Linked DNA regions of Homo sapiens: regions 1, 3, 4, 5, 6 and 7 are each linked to region 2. The links are contacts of gene promoters, found by promoter capture Hi-C in blood cells and fetal thymus (Javierre and others, 2016). All regions are on one chromosome and are shown on one strand. The core of a region is centred on a gene start or on the middle of the fragment in contact, and the rest is flanking DNA. Distances in the headings are between cores, read along the strand shown.

Region 1 (3,016 bases), core at 329-2,828, 430 kb before region 2:
ATTTGGTCCTCAGAGGCACAGGGGAGAAGGCCGAGTGAAGACAGAGGCACAGGTTGGAGCGATGCAGCCCCAAGCCAAGGAGTGCCTGGAGCCCCCAGGAGCTGGAAGAGGCAAGGAAGGACTCTCTCCTGGAGTCTTTGGAGGGACCGCGGCCCGGACCACACCTTGATTTCAGACTCTGGCCTCCACAACAGACAGAGGACCAAGTTCTGTTATTTAAAGGCACTGAGTTTATAATTAATCTGTTACAATTGCCCCAGGAAACTAGTACAGGGGTGATGGCCAAGGGGTGCAGGGTATTTATTTGGGGTAATGAAAATGTTCGAAAATTGATCATGGTGATGTGTGTACAACTTTGTAAATACACTAAAAGCCATTGAATCGCAAATTTTATTTTTATTTATTTATTTTTGAAATGGAGTCTCACTCTGTCGCCCAGGCTGGAGTGCAGTGGTGCAATCTCTGCTCACTGCAACCTTCGCCTCCTGGGTTCAAGCGGTTCTCCTGCCTCAGCCTCCTGAATAGCTGGGATTACAGGTGCCCACCTCCATGCCCGGGTAATTTTTGTACATTTTTAGTAGAGATGGGGTTTCGCCATGTTGGCCAACTGGTCTCGAACTCCTGACCTCAAGTGATCTGCCCACCTCGGCCTCCCAAAGTGCTGGGATTACAGGTGTGAGCCACCATGCCTGGACTGAATTGCACGCTTTAAGTGGCAAATTGTATGGTATGTGAATTATATAAGACTGGTTAAAGAAAAAGTCTAGGGGATTTGCCCCTCTTACAGCCAGGTAGGGAAAGAGGCAGGACCAGAAGGTGGGATGGGAAGGTGGGTTGCTCCACGCTGCCAAGGCACTTCCCCTGGACAGCAGCACTCCTGTCCCCAGGGCCATCACCACACAAGCAGAGGTGACGCGTGCAGGTGGTAGGGAGCCTGGTCACGTGGCCTCCCCTGCCCCTCTGTCTCATGCATGTGATCATTCCCTCCTGCTGGTGTTTAACTTTATCTTTTCCCTACCTCAGTTTTCACGCCTCACTGCTCCCCACCTTCCCTTTGTGAGCTGTCTTCATCCCTGTACCCCCTTCCATCGGCCCCTCCAAATAGCAAACCTCCAGGGGCAGAATCCATTTCCAATCCCTTAGATGTCAGGGGAATTGAAAGCACGGCAAATATTTCCAAGATCTAAATTACACCGACCCCGGAAGGCTGAACTCGCAGTATAATCCAGGTTATGAATTGTAAATCAGATGCCATGCAAAGTACTCGCGAAAATTCAATAAAGCTTTCTTTGCTCCCAGCACAGCAAAGTTGGGCCTAGGGAGGCAGGAGGAGGCATGCTGGAACTTGGAGGAAAGGAGACCTGTGACTGGGGAGGAGTGGGTAGGGAGTGGGTGGGCAGGGTGTGGGGGCTCTGACCCTGCTTGGCCAAGACTTCTCAGGGGGAGGAGCTGCCCATTTTCCTGTTGGAGGAGTCAAGAGGTCTCTGTGGCCATTGGATAACATGCCCTACAAGATTTAGTCCAGCCTTGCAAATAAGAATGATACAGTTACCAGCCCGTCCAAGCTAGGGAGGCCGTGGAAGGAAAGGTGGCCTTCTAGACTACTCATGTGGCACAGACTGTCAGGCTGTATGTACATGCATGTATATAGTCAGAGGTGGAATGGATCCTGATATTAAGATGTTTTTTTTTTTTAATCCCTGCTTTAGTAAGAAAGCAGCCAGAGAACTCACTTTGGACCCACTGATGATAGGTACCCCTAGAATGGAGAAAGCAATGCACACTGGAATCTCTCAAGAGTTTTACTTGGAAGGGAGGCTGAAGAGCAAATGGCGCCACTCTATGGCTGGAAGGGGATTGCATAGAAGCTTTTATGTTTCAAAACCTGGCAATCTCTAGAGAAAGAAATGCGGGTGGGACAATGGCAGGTGTTCACTTCCAACCCTGGAGGTACACTGAGGCATGGCATCTCTACCCTGTCTGAATTGGAAGCCGGGGGTGCTGGGAGGGTTACATTTTGTATGGTTACATCCCTGGGGCACCAAGAAGGTAAATATTTACAAAAGCACTCAGCCTGCTAATCTCAGGTGTTCTCCCCTCTGCCTTGGTCTTCTGGCCATTAGAGAGTTTGAAAACATCCCCCTCACCCAAAGATAGATGGGAAATCAGAAGCTGGTGGAGACTAATTTTCCCTGCTCAAACTTGGTCTCATGGGCATCCTACCACATCTGCATAGATGACCCCTGTGGGCAGCCACTGACTCATCTCATGCACTGAGGCCCACCTGCCAGGCACTGTGCTGGCTGCCAGGGAGACAGGGCTAGGAGATGAGGCTCTTCCCTTGAGCAGGTTGGGTGGTGACGGGTTGGGTCTTTCACCCTTGTCTCCCAGATGCTCAGAAGACCAAGTTCCAGGCACACACTATACCAGCCTTGGGGAAAAGGCCAGGTGTTGCCCTTGGTTACTGCAGGTCTGTGGGGCTGGTGTAAAGAAGGTCTGGAGAAGACTTGAGCTGCTTGTGTTGGAGGGAGTGGGGGTTGCCAACCCTGGGCTTGAGCAGCCCTGAATGTTCCCAGCCTATTAATAGTCATGATGAGGAGGATGTGGCAAGTCTCCCCTTTAGGTGCTCAGGGCTCTGCCAGGCAATTAAAATATAGCCCTGCTCATGACTTTAATGAGGACACCATTAATATTGGGGGCAGCCTTAGCTCTGGGCTGTGTCCTGCAGGAACAGCCTCATCAGTGTAGCCTGGCCAGGAAGAGCTTAATGCATCTTTTTGTTCTATAGAAAAGTCTCTCTCTTTCTCTCTCCCTCTTTGCCTTCCCCCACGCCCTGCCTACCCTTGAAGAACATGGAGAAAGTATAGTGCAATGATATGGGCTTGAGCCTCCTCTACAAAGCCAGGGTGCATGTAGCTTGGCTTTCTAGCACCCACAGACCTTTGGCAAGCACGGTGGGAAGACTCCGAGATGGTCCCCCGCCCTGATTCCCACCTCGTGGTGCTCATGCCCTTGT
Region 2 (2,823 bases), core at 13-2,512:
GCATTTCCAGACCTTGGAGAGCCTGACTTGGGAAGGGGAAACTGGAATCAATCGGTTGACCGACCCCCTTTTCCCAACCGCCGCCTCCCCACCAATCACTCCATGTCCGGAAGGGGGCTGGGGGCTCCCGACTATAGGAGACTCTGGGAGTCCTATGAGGCCTTTGAGACAGGGGCGCGAGCGAGGCTGGAAGGAAAGGCTGGGCAGAGAGCGGAGGGGCTCGCGCGCATCTCTCCCGGCGCGGCAGAAGGTTGGCACTGCTGCCCCCCTGCGGGTCCCAGAGCCGCTGGGCGCCCGCGGCCGCGCAGTCGGATTGTATTTCTGCGGGGCTCGCTCCCGGGCCTGGCTCGGGGCCGCCGCCGCCGCCGCCGCCCCTCCCGGCGCGCAGGCTGCTCTCCAGTCGCGGCCACGGGGTAGCGCTCGGCCCCCCTCTCCGCGTCTCCGCCTCCGCCGCGCTCGTCCCCGGCTCACGCTGCCCCCGCAGCTCCGGCTCGGCGCAGGCAGGAGCGGCTCTCTGGACGCCGAGCCCGGGAAGCGGAGGGCGGCGGGCTCGGCGAGCGGCAGCGGCGGCCGAGGCGCTGGGGCGGCCGTTGCTCCTCCGGCCCGGGAGGTCGGCGATCGCCGGGCGTCCGAAGGGGCGCCGCGTCCCCGGAGCCGGGGCTGCCCGCCGGGCTCTCCGTGCGTCTTCCCGAGAGCTCCGGCCGGGGCGCGGCGGAGGGCAGAGCCGCCGGTCTCCATCCTCGGGCCGGCAGGAGGCTCTGCGCCCGGGCGCCGGCGACAGCCCGCGTCGCGAAGCCCAGCACCCTCCCCCGCCGCCCCGCGGCTGGCGCGGACATGGGCGCTCAGGGCTGCGCGCCCGGCTCCGGGACCCGCAAAGTTTGCTAGCCGGCTGGGCGCGGAGCCGAGGGCGCGCCCGGCCCCAGCGCCCCCGGAGGAGACCCGGCGTCTCCCGATTCGGCGCGAGGGCGGTGGAGCCCAGAGGGGGTGGTTCGGCCCCGCCAGATGCTGCCTGCAAAGTTAGAGAGAAGAAAACTTCAGCTCCAGGGAGATTCGGACCGCTATGCTCACCGCGTCCCCCGAAACCGGCGCCCCTAAAAGAACCCCCGCACCCGCGTCTGCCACTGCGCTCGGCTCTGGCCGGGTCCCGGGGGCCCGGCGCCTGGAACGGCGGTGACTGCGTCGGCCGGGAGAACCCAACCAGGGGGCGGGGAGGGGGCGGGCAACGTGGCCACGGGAGGAAGTTTCCTGAAGTTGTCCATTTATTCCGGAGCTCGGCCGGCGACCCGGCCGGATCGCAGAGGCCGCCCTGTTTGGGAGAAGTCGGAGTTGGGGTGCTAAGGGAGAGAGGCGCCCTAGTCCGAGAGGGCGGCCTGGCCTCTTTCTCCCTGCTCGCCCCTCGCCTTCCGGGCGCGCTGCCGGGCTCGGACTAGTACAGAAGAGGAGGAAGGGTTGGGGTAGCCAAGCGCTGCCCCTCCCGGGCATATTACACCCCGGGGCACGGAGCCGCGTAGACTGACTGTTTCCTGGGACTAAGCCACGGGGTATCGGACCCCACCAGGATTATAAAACAGGGCGGAGGGAAGGGAGACCCCGAGGACCCCTCTCCAGGCTGGTCACCATGTGGGGGCTTTTGATCTGGACACTGCTAGCTCTGCATCAGATCCGCGCGGCCAGAGCCCAAGGTAAGGAGGGACCCCCACGTGGGGACAGGGAGGGGGCTGGGAGAGTGGGCGGGGGAGGGGCGGCGGGAGCTGGCCGGCCTCACGGTGACCTCCTGGACACCCGGCTTAGCCGTGGCAGAGCCCTCTCCAGGGAGTTTCAAGACACCCCATCTCCCAAGTTTTGGGGCTCTTTTGGGGGTGGGGCAGTCTCTCCGAGACTTGTGGCTTCCGAATGGGGGAAGGTGGGGACGACCTGGGGAGGCAGAGAAGAGCCCAAGGTGAAGTGGGAGGGGCGCTCCCCTCCCCCCGTCTGCTGTGGCTGCCCTGCGCCGGCTTGGGAGGGGAGCGACATTCCGTGCCGGGCTCCACGCTCGGCTACGCTGAGCTTCCCAGACCGAGCTCCTGGTTCCCTGCTCGGTGTCTGCGGGGAAGGGCAGGGCCCCTGCCGGGCAGGCGATGGCCTCCCCGGGGCGAGGGAGTGGGGTGGGCGAGCGCTGGATGCCGGGTTGCTCGCCCGGGGAGAGCAATTGCCCGGCTTGGCCACGTACGGGAGCCCGCCCCTGGCTGCTCGGCCAGCCGCTGGGGCTGGGGGTGCTTCGCTGCGCGGGCCTGGAGCCAAGGTCGCGGGTGCAGCCGCGGACCCACCGGGGGGTGGTGCACAGGGAGGGTCTGAGGCCTCCCCTCCTACCCATCCACCCACACCCAGCATCCCCGCCCCTGCCTCCAGCCTCCGCTGTTCGCTCGATAGTCTGTGCAGCCGCTCGCTGCTGTGACCTGTGGCTGCCGGGAGCAGCCTCGCGGTGGAGAAGGGCTGGTGGCTTTGGGTTTGGGAGTGCTACGAAGGATCCGAGGTGTGATCTGCGCTGCCCGCTTCCTGAGGGTGGATGCCCAGACGTCCCCCTGGTCCCCGGGCAGGTCCCCGAGGTGAAGGGCGGCTGCACCGGCGGTTCCTCGACTTTGGGGTTCGCCGATCCAGACAGTGGTGTCAGCGGTGTCCGAGCGGCGCCTGCTGGGGGCGGAGGGAGACGAAGCCTGGACCGAGCTCCAGGACTCGCAGGGCTAGGCCTTCACTCTCGCAGGCTCAGGAGGGGGCCAGACCCACCCTAGGGGTCCGGACTGTGGGGGCTGCAACCCACTCCCCACGCCGCCTCGTGCGCCAGGC
Region 3 (2,805 bases), core at 22-2,521, 450 kb before region 2:
GTCAATCTGTTATTCTTCCACATGACAGTTTTCACACCGTTGAAGACAGAATATCCCTTGTGGATTTGCTGTTAAACACCCTGATTTCTGAAAAAACACATCAGAGGAAGAACAGCGCGAGTGCCCTCACTGACCTGGTTTTCTCCTGGTCATGCTCTCTGTCTTAGTCCGTTTTGTGTTGCTATCACAGAATACCACAGATGGGTAATTGAGAAAGAAAATAATTTTATTTCTTACAGTTCTGGAGGCTGGCGAGTCCAAGGTCATGGGGCCCGCATCTAGTGAGAGCATCTAAGCTGCATCATCCCATGGCAGAAGGTGAAAAGGCAAGAGAGTGTGAGGAAGGAAGAGGGCAAGCGGGGGTCGAATTCACTTTTATAACAAGTCCACTCTCACAATAACTAACCTTTTCCTGGGATAATAACATTAATCCATTCATGAGGGCAGAGCCCTTATGACCTAATCCATTCTTAAATGTCCCACCTCCCAACCCTGTTGCATTGGGGACTAAGATTCAAACACATAAACTTTGGGGGACACATTAAAACCATAGCACCCTTTAGTATTCATCTTAAAGTGTGATACCTGGCCAGAGCAAAATTTTCCAGGGGAGTTAGACTCCAGGAATCAGCCAATGAGATGTGGTGATCCCATGCTGCAAACTTGGCACTGTGTGTGCAACAGAATCACTGGTAGCATTACACAAATACCTGGGTCTTATCCCCAGAGATTCTGCATCAGTAAGTCTGGGGTTAAGCCCAGGAATGTGTACTTTAAAGGAGAGCTTCACAGCCCTTTCCATCCAATGGTCGTTTTTCTGCAGGAAAATGGAGATGTGCAGATAAGATGCACTGGGCATGGCACTGTGAAGCCAACATATTAGTCAGGACTCACTTATTTGCAAGTGATAGATATCCAACTTAATCGGCTCAAGCAAATGGGGAATGTATTAGTCCAGGAGCTTTGAGGGATTCTGGGACAGCAGTAGGAACCTGCCTTCAGGGATGAGACTGAGGATGAAAAACTGTTGCTCCTCTGCCTGCTATCTTGTTTGGCTTCATTCTGGGAAATAATCTCTCTGTGTGGTGAGAAACATGGCCACAAGTAGCCCTAATTCATATTTTCCAAGCTTATCAACCTCAATTGGAAAGTAAATTTTGTCTTTTAGTGTATTTAAGTTAATTCTAGGGAAGGATTTTTATTGGACCAACTTGAGTCTTTTAACTGACCACTGTGTCATGTAGATGGAATGTTTTTTATTGGATCATGGACTTACCACTTCCCTAGATTGGAGAAGGCTCAGTATTGGGTGAGGGAGAATGAACCATCAGGAAAATGATGCTGGGCACATGCCCGCTATAGTCAACCTACACAAAGGGCTGGCTAGATTTTTCTCAGGGAAAGAAAGCTTTATTGCAACTTTTAGATGGAGGCAACATTTTTCTAGTAATAACCAGATTTTTAAAAGCCTTTAAGGTCACCAGATTAGGATGATGCTACTGGGATGAAAATAAGAAGAAATGTTGGTTCAAATGCTAGTTCAGTCATTTATGAAACTTGATTTATGCCAGCAGAGACTGGTGATCACATCTGTCTTGAATTAATCTCTACTTGTTTCACTGGCACAAACCTTGTCTCATCAGTCAGACTGAAAACAGCTCAAAGCCTGGAATTACAAGATACACAATTTTTATGTTTCTTCTTATACTCAGGTCCAGTATGTTGCTGGTTACCCAGTGAGTAGAATGCACATAATGTATTTCACCTCTTTAATGGACACAGCTTTATGTCTGCCTCTAGTTTGTATTCCCTCCCATGAAAGGCCTAGGTCTGCTATGGTTTGTGTGCCTCAAAATTCATGCATTAGAAACATAATCCCCAATGTGAAACTGTTGAGAAACAGGACGTTTAAGAGGTAATTAGGTCATGAAGGCTCTGCTCTCATGAATGAATTAATGGCATTATCACAAGAGTGGGATGCTGATTAAAAAAGGGTACGTTTGTCTCTGTTTCTCTCTTGGTTTTGCTCATGTGCGCTCTCTTGCTCTACCACCAACTACCATGGAATGATAACAGCAAGAAGGTCCTCACAAGATGCCGGCATCATGCTCTTAAACTTTTTGGCCTCCAGAATCATGAGTCAAATAAACTTCTATTGTTTATAAATTTCCCAGGCTGTTGTTTTCTGTTGTAGCAACACAAAATGGACTAAGACAGGAAATTGGTACTGAGAAGTGGGACTATTTTTTATAACAAATACTTGAAACTATGGAAGCAGATTTGGAACTGGGTAATGAGTAGAGGCTGGAAGCATCTAGAGAAGCCGGTTAGAAAAAGTCTAGATTGCCACGAATGGAGTAGTAAAGAGTGATTCTGCAGAGGGCTCAGAAAAAGAGAAGAAATGTAGGTAAAGTCTGAAACTTCTTAGAGATTACTTAAGTGGTTGTGATCTGAATGTTGGTAGACATATGGATGGTAGAGGCCATTCTGATGAAGTCTGAGATGGAAATGGGGAAGAAGGTATTGGGAACTGGAGTAAAAGCTATCCTTGTTATAAAGTTGCATAGAACTTGGCTGAATTATGTCCATGCCTGAGGGCCTTATGGAAGGCAAAAATTAAGAGTGGTGAACCAGGATATGTGGCAGAAGAAATTTTTAAGCAAAATAGTGAAGAAGCTGTCTACTTTTAATCATATACATTAAGGAAATAAATGATTTGAAGATGGAATTTATAATTAGCAGAAAAGAGAAGAAGAATGAAAAGATCTTAAAAATTTTCAGCCTGACCATGTGAAGAATGAAAAA
Region 4 (2,957 bases), core at 206-2,705, 390 kb before region 2:
GATGGTCTTGAACTCCTGACCTCATGATCCGCCCACCTCAGCCTCCCAAAGCGCTGGGATTACAGGTGTGAGCCACCGCGCCCAGCCATTGCCAGAATCCTCTTGCTTCAGACTCCTGCATTCCTCTTTCCCTCCCGCACCCACTTCCTCGGGAGGAATCTTCTTGGGAGGCAGTATATGAACCTTTCAAATACAAACCAACTGATCCAGAGTCTACGCCCTCAATTCCATCCCTTGCTGGGCTCTCACACTCTGACCACATCTGCCTGCACTAAACACCCCAGGGCTGGGTGCCAGACATCTAGGGATGGCTCCGATGCCTCAGAGTCCGCTGAAATTACTCACACTCACCAATGCTACACCTGCCCACTGTGCCTTGCTCATTTCATCCCAAGGAACCACAGTGAAGGCTCTTGCCCATGGTTGTCGCCTTCCTCTGTCTCAAAACCAAGCCTGTTGCCTTTCCGTGTGGCCCCTGTGAGTACCATAGACAGCCTTTTCAATGGCAGTTGTCTGCTGATCGGTTGACCTTGCAGCACCTAAGTAGTAAAACCCATTCGACAGCAGGGCTGAGGGAAACGAGGAGAATGAGACATCCAGGGAGTAGCTGTTGTGCTGAATCCCTATTAATTCCAATGGGGATGGCACCAGGTTCAGGAGACCAAAGAAGAGACCCAGAGCCAGCAGATGAGACATGGGGCTTTGCTGGGGGCTTACATGCAGGGGAGGGTTCAGCGGCAGTGAGCCCAACAGGATGAAGCACAGCTCCGTGGCTGTGGGCTGGGTGGGAGAACCATCACTGGTTACAAAAGCATGCAGTTTACATGGCATTTTTACTTAGCACCCTCCCCTAACCATCTCCACCTGGGCACCTTCACTTAACCCAAAACCATGGGCCTTGATCCCCTGTATGGCCTGTGTTCCACAGACTGGCTGGGGGCTCAGATGTTCCTCATAGATAAGGAATGACTCTCTGGGTTGGCCCCTCATGGATTCCTTAGCTCGGAATTCAGAGCGTGCATTCAGGTGCACCTGCCATACGGGCTCATTCTTGAGGTGTGATCAAGTTATTCCCATCAGATGCATCTGCTAAACAGTAGCCAGGAAGCCGCTGTGCCTCTTAGGCCTGACCAGGCAAGAGGAGGGAGCCAGGTTAATAGAGCTCAGCATAGAGCTTAGCCTTGGAGGGGGGTGCCCAGCAGATGTGAGCAGAAGGAGAAGAGCAGAGCAATTGAAGGGGCTTCAGTTTGAAGCCCTTTAGGGAGAGAGTCAGGAATACATTCCCCAGCATTTCTCTCTTCCTGCCTCCCATCGGCTGGATCCAACCAGACACCACAGGACAGTTCCTGAAGCCCCAGCAGAGCGGTGAGTGGAGGACTGATCTGCTGGGGAATGGAGTTGCATCAGAAGATATGGAACCATTGAGAGGACCTTTCTTGGTGAATGGCCAGATGCTTTAGAAATGGGTGGGGTGACCCAGAAGACTCCATGCCCTAAGGAGCCTCCACCGTTGGTGCCTGGGGAAGATCAATACAGGATGGGTGGGTCTCAGAGTGGGATAGACCAGCATCTCTCAAACCTGTACTGTGGATACAAATCCCCCCAGGAGTCTTGCTAAAATTCAGATTCTGACTGAGGGGCTTGGGGTGGGGCGTGAGATGCTGCATTTCTTACAAGCTCCCCAGGTGATGCCCGTGCAGCTCTTCCATGGACCACACACTGAGTAGCCAGCCAGCCGAAGGTGGCCTGGGTCTCTCTTCCCCTCTGCTCATGGGGACTGGGCTTGTCATGCTGTCCTAGTCACTCATTTCTCTCTGACATATCCTCCCCAGCTCTTTTCTATCTTTTCATTGCTCCTGAGTGTCTCTGAAATTTATTTTTCTCCTTCCACCTCAGGTGAGAGTAGATAAAAGCATTTCTTACCGTCTGGCCAGAAATCCACTTCCCTAAGATAGCCTGACCTGGGGTAACTTAAAACTTAAAAAAAGAAAGAAAAGAAGTTTAATTGGCGGCAGTTAACACAAACAAATTGGTTTGACACAGCTGCAATTATCAGTTTTCCCTTCTCACCCTGAATCTGCAGTTCATTTCTCCCTTTGCCAAAGACAGACCCGGGAAGGATTTTTGAGAAGCTGGTGGTCCCCACCCAGCTTGGGTGGGCTCTGTGGGTCCCTGACTGATAGTTGCCTTTGCAGTGGGGGTCTGGGGTGTGGAAGGACTGGGCAGAGGAGGGAGCTGCCATGTTACTGAGCCTCTGCTCTATGCCAGGCTCCGTGCCAAGGTCAGCATTTGTTAACCGTCTCACCATCAGCCTGCAGTGGCACTAGTAGCCCATTTTTATGGAGGAGGAATTGAGGCTTGGCTAGGTGTCATGGCAAAGCTGGACTTGGTTTTGTGTCTGATTCTTAATGTTCATTTTTCACTACCCTGTATGGCTTCCAAACAGGACCAAGGGTTGGGTGAGTAAGGCATTCCCCTTGGGCACTAGATTTGGGAGGGGGATTTTTTAAAAACTAGGTAATCAAGATATACAATATTAAAATCAAAATTCAAAGCTCCTCAATCCACAACGAAAAAAATATGCAAATTTTAAAATAAAGACAGGGTACCATAGGGCTAGGACTAGAGTGAGAGGCGGGAGGCCGAGGGCAGGGCTGGGTCTGGTCTTTATTTAACATTTGGACATTTTGTTTATCATGGATTTTTTTTTCTCAGGCCCATTCTGCACAGGTGGGGAAACTGAGTTGACCCTGTAAATGGGGGCAAATATGTCTTCCTTGGGGGTGTGCAAAGAACCTGGCCTGGCAGGGCAGGTACTAAGCGAGCATTAGCCCTCTTCGCTTCCTTTCCTTTCCCTGACTTCCTCTCTCTCCCCATCTGGCTTACTCTCCTTCCTCAAAGCTGCTTAAAACTTAGTTCTCACCTGGGCCTCTGGGAAGGTGTTGCTTTAGCAGGGA
Region 5 (2,775 bases), core at 131-2,630, 370 kb before region 2:
GTTCTGAGGTTTGCAGAGACAGTCCCAGGCCCTGTGCAGGCAGCCAAAACCCATCTTGGGCAGAGGTGGGAGAGAGGGCTTTGCTGCAGGCAGATGTTTCTGTTCTCCAGCGGAGACGGGGGATGCAGAGACTCAGCGTGTGCAGATGGGTGGGAGTGGAGAGGGAGCCTGGGGGACTGTGAGCAGGATCGATGCAGATGGTGTCAGTCGAACGCAATTTTGGTGACAGACGCCGATTTTGATAAAGCGCAGTGTGAGCTGTGCATGGCACATGAGCGCTTCTGATGTTTCCTGATGGCTCCTACTCCCTCGGTGCTGTCTCTCCTCCCTCTTCCACAGCGGTTTCCTCTGCAAACTACCATCTCCAGTGACTTCAGCTCTAGCCCCTCCGGGTCCTCCTTGCACCCAGGGCTCATGATTCCCAAATTTCCAACCTCTCTGACCTTCAGCTCCACTCCTGCCAACCTCTCCAGGCTCCTTCGTTGTCATCAGAAATTTTCTACCTCCACAGTCTCACTGTGAGCCCCTCCCTCACCGCAAGTTCCTTCCACTTTCTCCACCTCCAGTGGTTGTAAAACAAGCCCACAGATTCTTTGGCGCTCTTGTTGTGGAGAAGGTGCATCTGTTCACCCCCCTTCAATCTGGTGGACTTGTGACTGCTTCTCCTACCAGTAGATCATGGTGGAAGTAACACGATGGGGCTTCTGAGGCTAGGTCGGAAAAACCAGATAACATCTGCCTGGGTCTGTTGGGACACTCACCTTTGCAGCCCTGAGCTACCAAGTAAGAAGTTCAACAACCCAGAGGCTGCCATGATGTAAGGAAGCTCAGGTCACATGAAGAGGCTACATGCACATGCTCCTGCAGAGTCCAGCCGAGGTCGCAGCCCACAGTCAGCACCAACCGCCAGACAGGTGATGACCATGCCTCCAGATGATTCCAGCCTCCAGGAGTTATCTCCAGCCATTGAGTCTTCCCAGCTGAAGCTCCAGACATTGTGGAGCAGAGATAAGTCATTCCTGCAGTGCCCTGTCTAAATTTCTGCAGCATCTCTAAGCATAATAAAATGGTTGATGTAAGCCACTAAGTTTTAGGGTAGTTTGTTATGCAGCAGTAGTTACTGGGGCCACATCATCCTTTATATCTCTCCAAGGCTGGCACAGAAATGCACTTCAGGATCTTGAACAATTATCTTTTCCACCCCACCCCCTGTAGTTGTAGGGAACAGGAGAGGGTAGAGAGGATGTGTTGTGGAGGGAAAACATCAGAGGATCGCCGGATAAAATGCAGGACACCAAGTTAAACTGAAATTTCAGATAAACAATGAGTCATTTTTAGTATAAGTGTGTCCCATAGGATGGTTGGGATATATTTATATTAAATAAGCTATTTGCTATTTATGTGAAATCCAAATATTTTCTGGGTGTCCTCATTTTTATTTCAAAATCCAGAAACACTAAAAAGTAGAGGCCTGAGGTCCTGAACACCCTTCCCAATGTCCTGATGTCCAAGGAGGTCATGTTGCTTCTGAGATCCAGTCTCTGAGTGGTCACAGCCAGTGCTCCTGCAGTGAGGATGAGCACAGATATTTTCTGTAGATAAGATGCATCTGTTCTTCCTGCTTCAATCTGGTGGACTTGTGGCTGCTTCTCCTACCGAAGATCATGGCAGAAGTAACATGATGGGGCTTCTGAGGCTAGGTCAGCAAAGCCAGACAACGTCTGCCTGGGTTTCTTGGTACATTCACCTTTGTAGCCCTGAGCTACCAAGTAAGAAGTACTACAGGTCAGGCTGGACATGTTGTGATGGGATCGATCCTGGGCCCTCCCTCTCCAGGCAAGCCATGCCCCTTGGACTGAGGGAACCTTCATCTGAGGAAACAGGGCTTCTCCTTTTGCATTGGTTTCCACAATGGGCAGTAGGGGCTTTGCCTGTCCCCAAGACCCAGATGCTCGTGGTGCAGGCTCCAGAAAGTGTCATTCTCTGTGGTCGGCAAGCATTCTGATACTTCAGGAAGTTGTCTGCAGGGGCCAGACAATGGCTGCAACCAGAGGCAGAAGCTGGTTCTGCCCATAGGTTGATTTCCCTGTTCCTAGAGTGAGGATGTCTTCATTCTCTCCAGAGCAAAACAGAGAGATGTCCATTCGGGTTCTTCTCCTCCTCCCAGCCAGGTGCACCCCTAACTTCCTCGGCTCTTGCCTGACAAAGGAGAATGGGAAAAGGCTCTCATCCCCTTTTTCCAGCCAGCCGCCCCTTTCTTAGATCGTATGCGTTCATTAGCCAGGAATGAAAACCAGCTCACTCTCAACTTGCCGCAGTGTCTCCTAAATAATAGTGGGCAGAAAACTGTCTAGTCTACCTTTCAATCCCATAGTTCTCTCATTTAACTTCTCAGTCCCAGCATATTAGGCCAAGTGATATTAATGAGTCATTCTATTTCTTCCTTCTGCCTCCCACCCTTCCCTGAGCCCCGATTGCAGGGGAGATAAGCCCATGCTTATCTACAAGGCTGAATAAATGACTGATTTAATAGAGGCAGATGACTGGGGCCAATCTCTGAAGGTGTGCCCTAACTTTATATGTGTGTGCGTGCTCTTTCAAGAGAGTATAATCTCTTTCCTTTTTGTAGTGACCACTCTGTAATGCCACTATCATGCTCAGTTGTCCTGCTGTAGCTGAAATCATTTCTGCAGCAACCTCTTGGAATTACCTTGAAGAAGCAGCCCAGACAGATCCTCTGAACATTCTCTAAGGTAAGAAAGCTGTTTCTTTGGG
Region 6 (2,860 bases), core at 208-2,707, 480 kb before region 2:
TTAAAAACATGGCCCTACAATTCTTTGTTGCTTCTCCATTGGAAGGTGGAGTCTATGTCTCTTCCCCTGGAATCCAGGCTCTGTGACCACTTCATCGGTAGAAAATGGTGGCAATGACACTGCATTTGTTTCTGGGACAAGGCCTTCAGAAATGGGAAGCTTGCCCTACTTGCCTCTCGGGGCAGTGCTCTTAGAACTCACCGTATTGTGAGGAAGCCAACAGCACATGAAGAGGCCAGGGTAGGGTTCTGGCTGATGAACCCAGCTGAGGTCAGAGGTGACAGCCAGTAACAACCACCAGAGAGCAGTGATGGCTTTGAGATGACTCCAGCCCCCACTGTTGGGTCACCCCTGCCTTTGAGCTTCCCCAGCCTATGTCATGTGAGCAGAGATCAGCTGTCTTCCCAGACTCTGCCCAAATTGCATATTCAGGAGCCAAATACATGATTGTTGTTGTTTTAGGCATCCTAGTTAAGGTGGATGGGTATGAAGTGGTAGATAACTGAAATACTTTTCTTCATGTTCCCTCCTTCTGGTGATTCAACAAATATTTTTTAGCATCCTGAATGAGTCAGCCACAATTCTAGATGCTATGAATAGAGTAGTGAAAAAACAGACAGGGATCTTCATGGAGCTTACGATCTGTGGGGGAGACAGACAAGTAAGAAAAACAAATAAAATAGATGGTTTGGAGGTGGTGAAACATGCTAAGAAGAAGAACAAAGGCAAAGAAGGGAATAGGAAGTTTATAAATAGGGTGGTCGGGGAAGGCCTTCCAAGCAGGGGGCACTGCATAAAGACTTGAAGGCAATGAGGAGCCAGCCAAGTGGATGCCTGGAGGAACAGCTTTCTTTTCTTTTCTTTTTTCTTTCTTTGTTTTTTTTTTTTTTTTTTTTTGAGACGGAGTCTTGCTCTGTCGCCCAGGCTGGAGTGCAGTGGTGTGATCTCGGCTCACTGCAAACTCCGCCTCCCGGGTTCACGCCATTCTCCTGCCTCAGCCTCCTGAGTAGCTGGGACTACAGGGCGGGCGCGGTGGCTCACGCCTGTAATCCCAGCACTTTGGGAGGCCGAGGCGGGTGGATCACAAGGTCAAGAGATTGAGACTATCCTGGCTAACACGGTTAAACCCCGTCTCTACTAAAAATACAAAAAATTAGCCGGGCATAGTGGTGGGAACAGCTTTCTAGACAGAGGGAAGAGCAAGTGCAAAGGGTCAGAGGCAGGAGTATGCTAGCAATATCCAGGGGGGCCGGATGGAGGGTGCAGGGCAGTCATAGGATGTGAGATTAGGATGGTGGTGGTGGGGTCAGACGGTGAAGGGCCCTGTGAGGATTTTCTGCCCTCATGAGAGGGTTTCAAGCAGAGGAGTAATGCATTTTAACAGGATCACTATGACTGCAGGGGGCTCAAAGATGGAAGCAGGGAGACTGCTGGGGAGGCCATTGCAATCATCCAGGTGAGAGATGATAAGGCAGGTGCCTTAAATCAGGATGGCAGCAATGAGGGTGGTGGAAAGTGGTCAGAATTCCAATATATTTTAAAGGGACAGCTACCAGGATTTGCTGAAGGATTAGATGTAAGTGGATGGAAGGGAAGGAGTTAAGGATGTCTCCAAGTGTTTGGCCTGAGCAGCTGGAAAGATGGATTTGCCATTCTCACTGAGATGAGGAAGACAGTGCAGATGGCTTTGTGCACGAAGGCAGAAACTTTGGGAGTTCCATTTCGGGCATGTTAAGTTTAAGATCCTGTGGTCACCAGCCTTCAATATGACCCCAGTGACCATAACCATTTTCTTTTTTTTTTTTTTGAGATAGAGTCTCACTCCATCACTCAGGCTGGGGTGCAGTGGTGTGATCATGGCTCACTGCAACCTTAACCTGCTGGGCTTAAGTGATCCTCCTCCTTAGCCTCCTGAGTAGCTGGGACTATAGGCATGCACCACCATATCCAGATACATTTAAAAAAATATTTTTCTGTAGAGATGCAGTCTCACCATGTTGCCCAGCCTTGTCTCAAACTCCTGGGCTCGAGTGATCTGACCACCTTGGCTTCCCAAAGTGTTGGGATTACAGGTGTGAGCCACTACAACTGGCCAGGCCCCACCTCTTGGTATTCACACCTGTGTGTAGTCCCCTCCCACACTGTACCAGAGTTGGTCAGTGTGACCAATAAAATGTGACAGAAGTGATGTTATGCCAGTATTTAGATTAGGTTGTAAAAGACTGTACCCCCTGCCTGTCTCATTCTCTGTCTCCCTTTCTTTCTTGGGTTATTTGCTCTGGGGGAAGCCAGCTGTGATATGATGAGCAGCCCTATGGAGAGGGTGTGTGGGAAGAACCTGAAGTCTCCAGCCAGCAGCCACATGAATACATCATCTTGGAAGCAGATCCTCCAGCCCCAGTCCAGCCTTCAGATGACTGCAGCCCTGGTCAACATCTCAACTGCAGTCTCATGAGAGACTCCAGACCAGAACCACCCTGCTGAGCCTCTTTTGGATTCTTGACCCTCAGAAACCCTGTGAGATCATAAATGCCAGTCGTTTTAAGCTGCTAAGTTTTGGGGTCATTTGTTAGCCAGCAAGATAACAAATACAGATCTGCATGAAACATACAAGCAGAAGGAAGTAGGCAGTCAGGTCTACAAGTCTGAAATTCAGGGAAGCAGTTCAGGCTGAAATATAAATTTGAGAGTTATTAACATATAGGTGATATTAAAAGCCATCAGGAGCAAAGGTTTCTCTTTTTATGGAAGCTTTCTCCACTTCCCTACTCCCTCTTCTGCGCTCTGATGTTGGCTTGCCTTTGCTGTGAGGTTGCACGGCGATGGCTTTGCTGTGCGCCCATCTGACCATTAGGTTCAG
Region 7 (2,778 bases), core at 149-2,648, 500 kb before region 2:
AGTAGTTGGGATTACAGGCATGCACCACCATGTCCGACTAATTTTACATTTTTAGTAGAGACTGGGTTTCACCATGTTGGTCAGGCAAACTCTTGACCTCAGGTGATCCATCCACCTCAGACTCTCAAAGTGCTGGGATTACAGGCATGAGCCACCATGCCCAGCCTCTCTCTTATTTACTTTCTTTTGCTTACTTGGTTTCAATTTTCTCTTCTTTTTCTAGCTTCCGAAAGTAGAAACCTAGATATTCGATTTTTAAAGCTTTCTTCTTTTCTAATAAGGGCATTTAAAGGTACAAATCTTTCAACAATCACTGCTTTGGTGACATCCCACAGTTTTTAAAAAATGACTTTATTGAAATACAAGTTGTATACAACAAAATTCACCCATTTTCAGTCTATGATTCACTGGGTTTTGACTAACGTTGTTACTCATGGGTCCACCACAACATCCAAAGTATAGAATATTCTCATCGCCCCAGAAAATTCCCTTGTGGCTGTTTTAGTCAATCCACTCCAACTGCTATGCCAACCACTGGTTTGTTTTCTGTCACTACAGTTTTGCCTTTTCTAGAATTTCACATAAATAAATTATGCAGCTTGTAGTCTTCTGTGTCTGGCCTCTTTCACTACGAATAATGCTTTTGAATTTACCCATGTTATTGTATGTATCAGTAGTTTGTTCATTTTATTGCTGTGTAGAATCCCATTTTGCACCACAAATGGTTTATCCATTCTCTTGTTGATGGGTATTTGGGTTGTTTCTAATTTGAGGCTATTATAAATAAAGCTCTTACGGACATTCATGTACAAGTCTTTGTGTGGACATATGCTTTTATATCTGGTAGAAAAAGATATTAGAATCACTGGGTCATATTGTGAGCATGTGTTTGACCTTTTTTTTTTTTTTTTTTTTTTTTTTTGAGATGGAGTTTTTTGCTCTTGTTGCCCAGGCTGTAGTGCAATGGCACAATCTTGGCTCACTGCAACCTCTGCCTCCTGGGTTAAAGCAATTCTCCTGCCTCAGCCTCCCGAATAGGTGGGATTACAGGCATGTACCACCATACCTGGCTAATTTTGTGTTTTTAGTAGAGATGGGGTTTCACCATGCTGGTCAGGCTAGTCTCGAACTCCTGACCTCAGGTGATCCGCCCACCTTGGCCTCCCAAAGTGCTGGGATTACAGGCGTGAGCCACCGTGCCCGGCCAACCTCTTAACTTTCCAAAGCAGTCGTACCATTTAGCATTTTAGAGTAAATCCATTTTCTGTTACTCCATCTTGGCCAGAAGTAGAACTATTATGTGGATTTAAGCAGCTAGTTATCTTTTGAAGAGATTGAAAAATGGATATTATAGATATCCACATATTAACCATTTCTGACATTCTTCCTTTGTATAGATTCAGATTTCCATCTGATATCCCTTTCCTTCTGCCTGAATATCTTCCTATTACATTTCTTAAAGTTCAGAACTGCTGGTGAGGAGTTCTCTCAGCTTTTGTATGTCTGAAAAAGTCTTTTTTTTTTACTTTTACTTTTGAAATATATTTTCACTAACTAAAGATTACTAGTTTGACAGTTATTTTCTTTCCCTTCTTTAAAGATGTCATTCCACTGTCTTCTGGTTTGCACAATTGTTGAAGAGTCTGCTGTCATTCTTATCTTTAATCCTCTTCAAAATGTGTCTTTTCCCCTTGGTGTGTGTGTGTGTTTTAATGTTTATTCTGTTTGGGGTTTACTGAGCTTCTGGATCTGTGGGTTTATCATTTTCATCCAATTTGTAAACAATTTGATTATTCTCTCTCTCTCTCTTTTTTTTTTTAGATGGAGTCTCTCTCTGTCACCCAGGCTGGAGTGCAGTGGTGCAATCTCAGCTCACAGAGGCCTCCTGGGTTCAAGCAATTCTCCTATCTCAGCCTCCTGAGTAACTGGGATTACAGACATGCACCACCGTGCTCAGATAATTTTTTATATTTTTAGTAGAGACAGAGTTTCACCATGTTGGCCAGGCTGGTCTTGAACTCCTGACCTCAAGTGATCCACCCACCTCAACCTCCCAAAGTGTTGGGATTACAGGCATGAGCCATGACACCTGGCCAATTATTATATCTGCAAATATATATATTTTTTGGAGTTTCAATTACACATAGGTTAGAACATTAATACTGTTCTGCAGGTCACTTATTTTCTGGTTGTTCTCTTTTTTTTCTATTCTTTTTCTATCTGTGCTCAATTTTAGATAGGACGTATTGCTCCACTTTCAAGATCAGTGATCTTCTGTAGTATCTAATCTGCTGTTAGTCCCCTCAAATGCATTTTTACTTTTTCTTTTGGATATTGCATTTTTGGTGTGTCTGAAAGATATTTTGGGGATTTTACATATATTTCATTTCTCTATTCATCATGTTCTTGTTTTCTTTCATAGTGTCTAGCCCAGGGGTCCCCAACCCTTGAGCCACAGACTGGTACTGGTCTGTGGCCTGTTAGGAATGGGGCTGCACAGTAGGAGGTAAGCAGTGGTCCAGCAAGTGAAGCTTCATCTGTATTTACAGCTGCTTACCATTGCTCACATTACCACCTGAACTCCACTTCCTATCAATGGCAGCATTAGGTTCTCATAGGAGCATCAACCCTATTGTGAACTGTGCATGTGAGGGATCTAGGTTGCACGCTCCCTGTGAGAATCTAATGCCTGATGATCTATCACTGTCTCCCATCACCCCCAGATGGGACCATCTAGTTGCAGGAAAACAAGCTCAGGGATCCCACTGATTCTACATC

What was found. The method cuts DNA at HindIII sites, captures the fragments that hold promoters and counts their contacts. A CHiCAGO score of 5 or more calls a contact.
Region 1: a contact is called between a fragment that was not itself captured here and the fragment with the promoter of SDK2 in region 2, in 1 of 17 cell types (M1 macrophages). The highest score is 5.7, in M1 macrophages.
Region 3: a contact is called between a fragment that was not itself captured here and the fragment with the promoter of SDK2 in region 2, in 2 of 17 cell types (M0 macrophages and M2 macrophages). The highest score is 5.6, in M0 macrophages.
Region 4: a contact is called between a fragment that was not itself captured here and the fragment with the promoter of SDK2 in region 2, in 2 of 17 cell types (M2 macrophages and M0 macrophages). The highest score is 6.3, in M2 macrophages.
Region 5: a contact is called between a fragment that was not itself captured here and the fragment with the promoter of SDK2 in region 2, in 4 of 17 cell types (M1 macrophages, M2 macrophages, monocytes and 1 more). The highest score is 7.9, in M1 macrophages.
Region 6: a fragment that was not itself captured here is called in contact with the fragment with the promoter of SDK2 in region 2 in 2 of 17 cell types (M1 macrophages and M0 macrophages); the score reaches 5.8 in M1 macrophages.
Region 7: a contact is called between a fragment that was not itself captured here and the fragment with the promoter of SDK2 in region 2, in 2 of 17 cell types (M1 macrophages and M2 macrophages). The highest score is 5.8, in M1 macrophages.

Annotation. Positions count from the first base shown.
Region 1 is chr17:74,069,391-74,072,406 of GRCh38, reverse strand. The region is part of intron 4 of LINC02074 (long intergenic non-protein coding RNA 2074); the gene reads left to right. Among named protein-coding and RNA genes, the nearest start is that of LINC02074, 42 kb to the left of the region's middle. The HindIII fragment of the contact is 585 bases long and covers 1,286-1,870 here.
Region 2 is chr17:73,642,884-73,645,706 of GRCh38, reverse strand. SDK2 (sidekick cell adhesion molecule 2) reads left to right here and starts at 1,262. Exons shown (of 45, transcript NM_001144952.2): 1 at 1,262-1,682. The coding sequence starts at 1,619. It overlaps LOC124904054 (a long non-coding RNA gene), which reads right to left and starts at 233. Exons shown (of 2, transcript XR_007065893.1): 1 at 13-233. The HindIII fragment of the contact is 5,171 bases long and covers 1-2,823 here.
Region 3 is chr17:74,093,659-74,096,463 of GRCh38, reverse strand. The region is part of intron 3 of LINC02074 (long intergenic non-protein coding RNA 2074); the gene reads left to right. Among named protein-coding and RNA genes, the nearest start is that of LINC02074, 18 kb to the left of the region's middle. The HindIII fragment of the contact is 279 bases long and covers 1,132-1,410 here.
Region 4 is chr17:74,033,027-74,035,983 of GRCh38, reverse strand. No RefSeq gene overlaps it. Among named protein-coding and RNA genes, the nearest start is that of LINC02074, 78 kb to the left of the region's middle. The HindIII fragment of the contact is 3,996 bases long and covers 1-2,957 here.
Region 5 is chr17:74,013,588-74,016,362 of GRCh38, reverse strand. No RefSeq gene overlaps it. Among named protein-coding and RNA genes, the nearest start is that of LINC02074, 98 kb to the left of the region's middle. The HindIII fragment of the contact is 6,027 bases long and covers 1-2,775 here.
Region 6 is chr17:74,121,113-74,123,972 of GRCh38, reverse strand. No RefSeq gene overlaps it. Among named protein-coding and RNA genes, the nearest start is that of LINC02074, 9.6 kb to the right of the region's middle. The HindIII fragment of the contact is 2,592 bases long and covers 162-2,753 here.
Region 7 is chr17:74,138,218-74,140,995 of GRCh38, reverse strand. No RefSeq gene overlaps it. Among named protein-coding and RNA genes, the nearest start is that of LINC02074, 27 kb to the right of the region's middle. The HindIII fragment of the contact is 2,270 bases long and covers 264-2,533 here.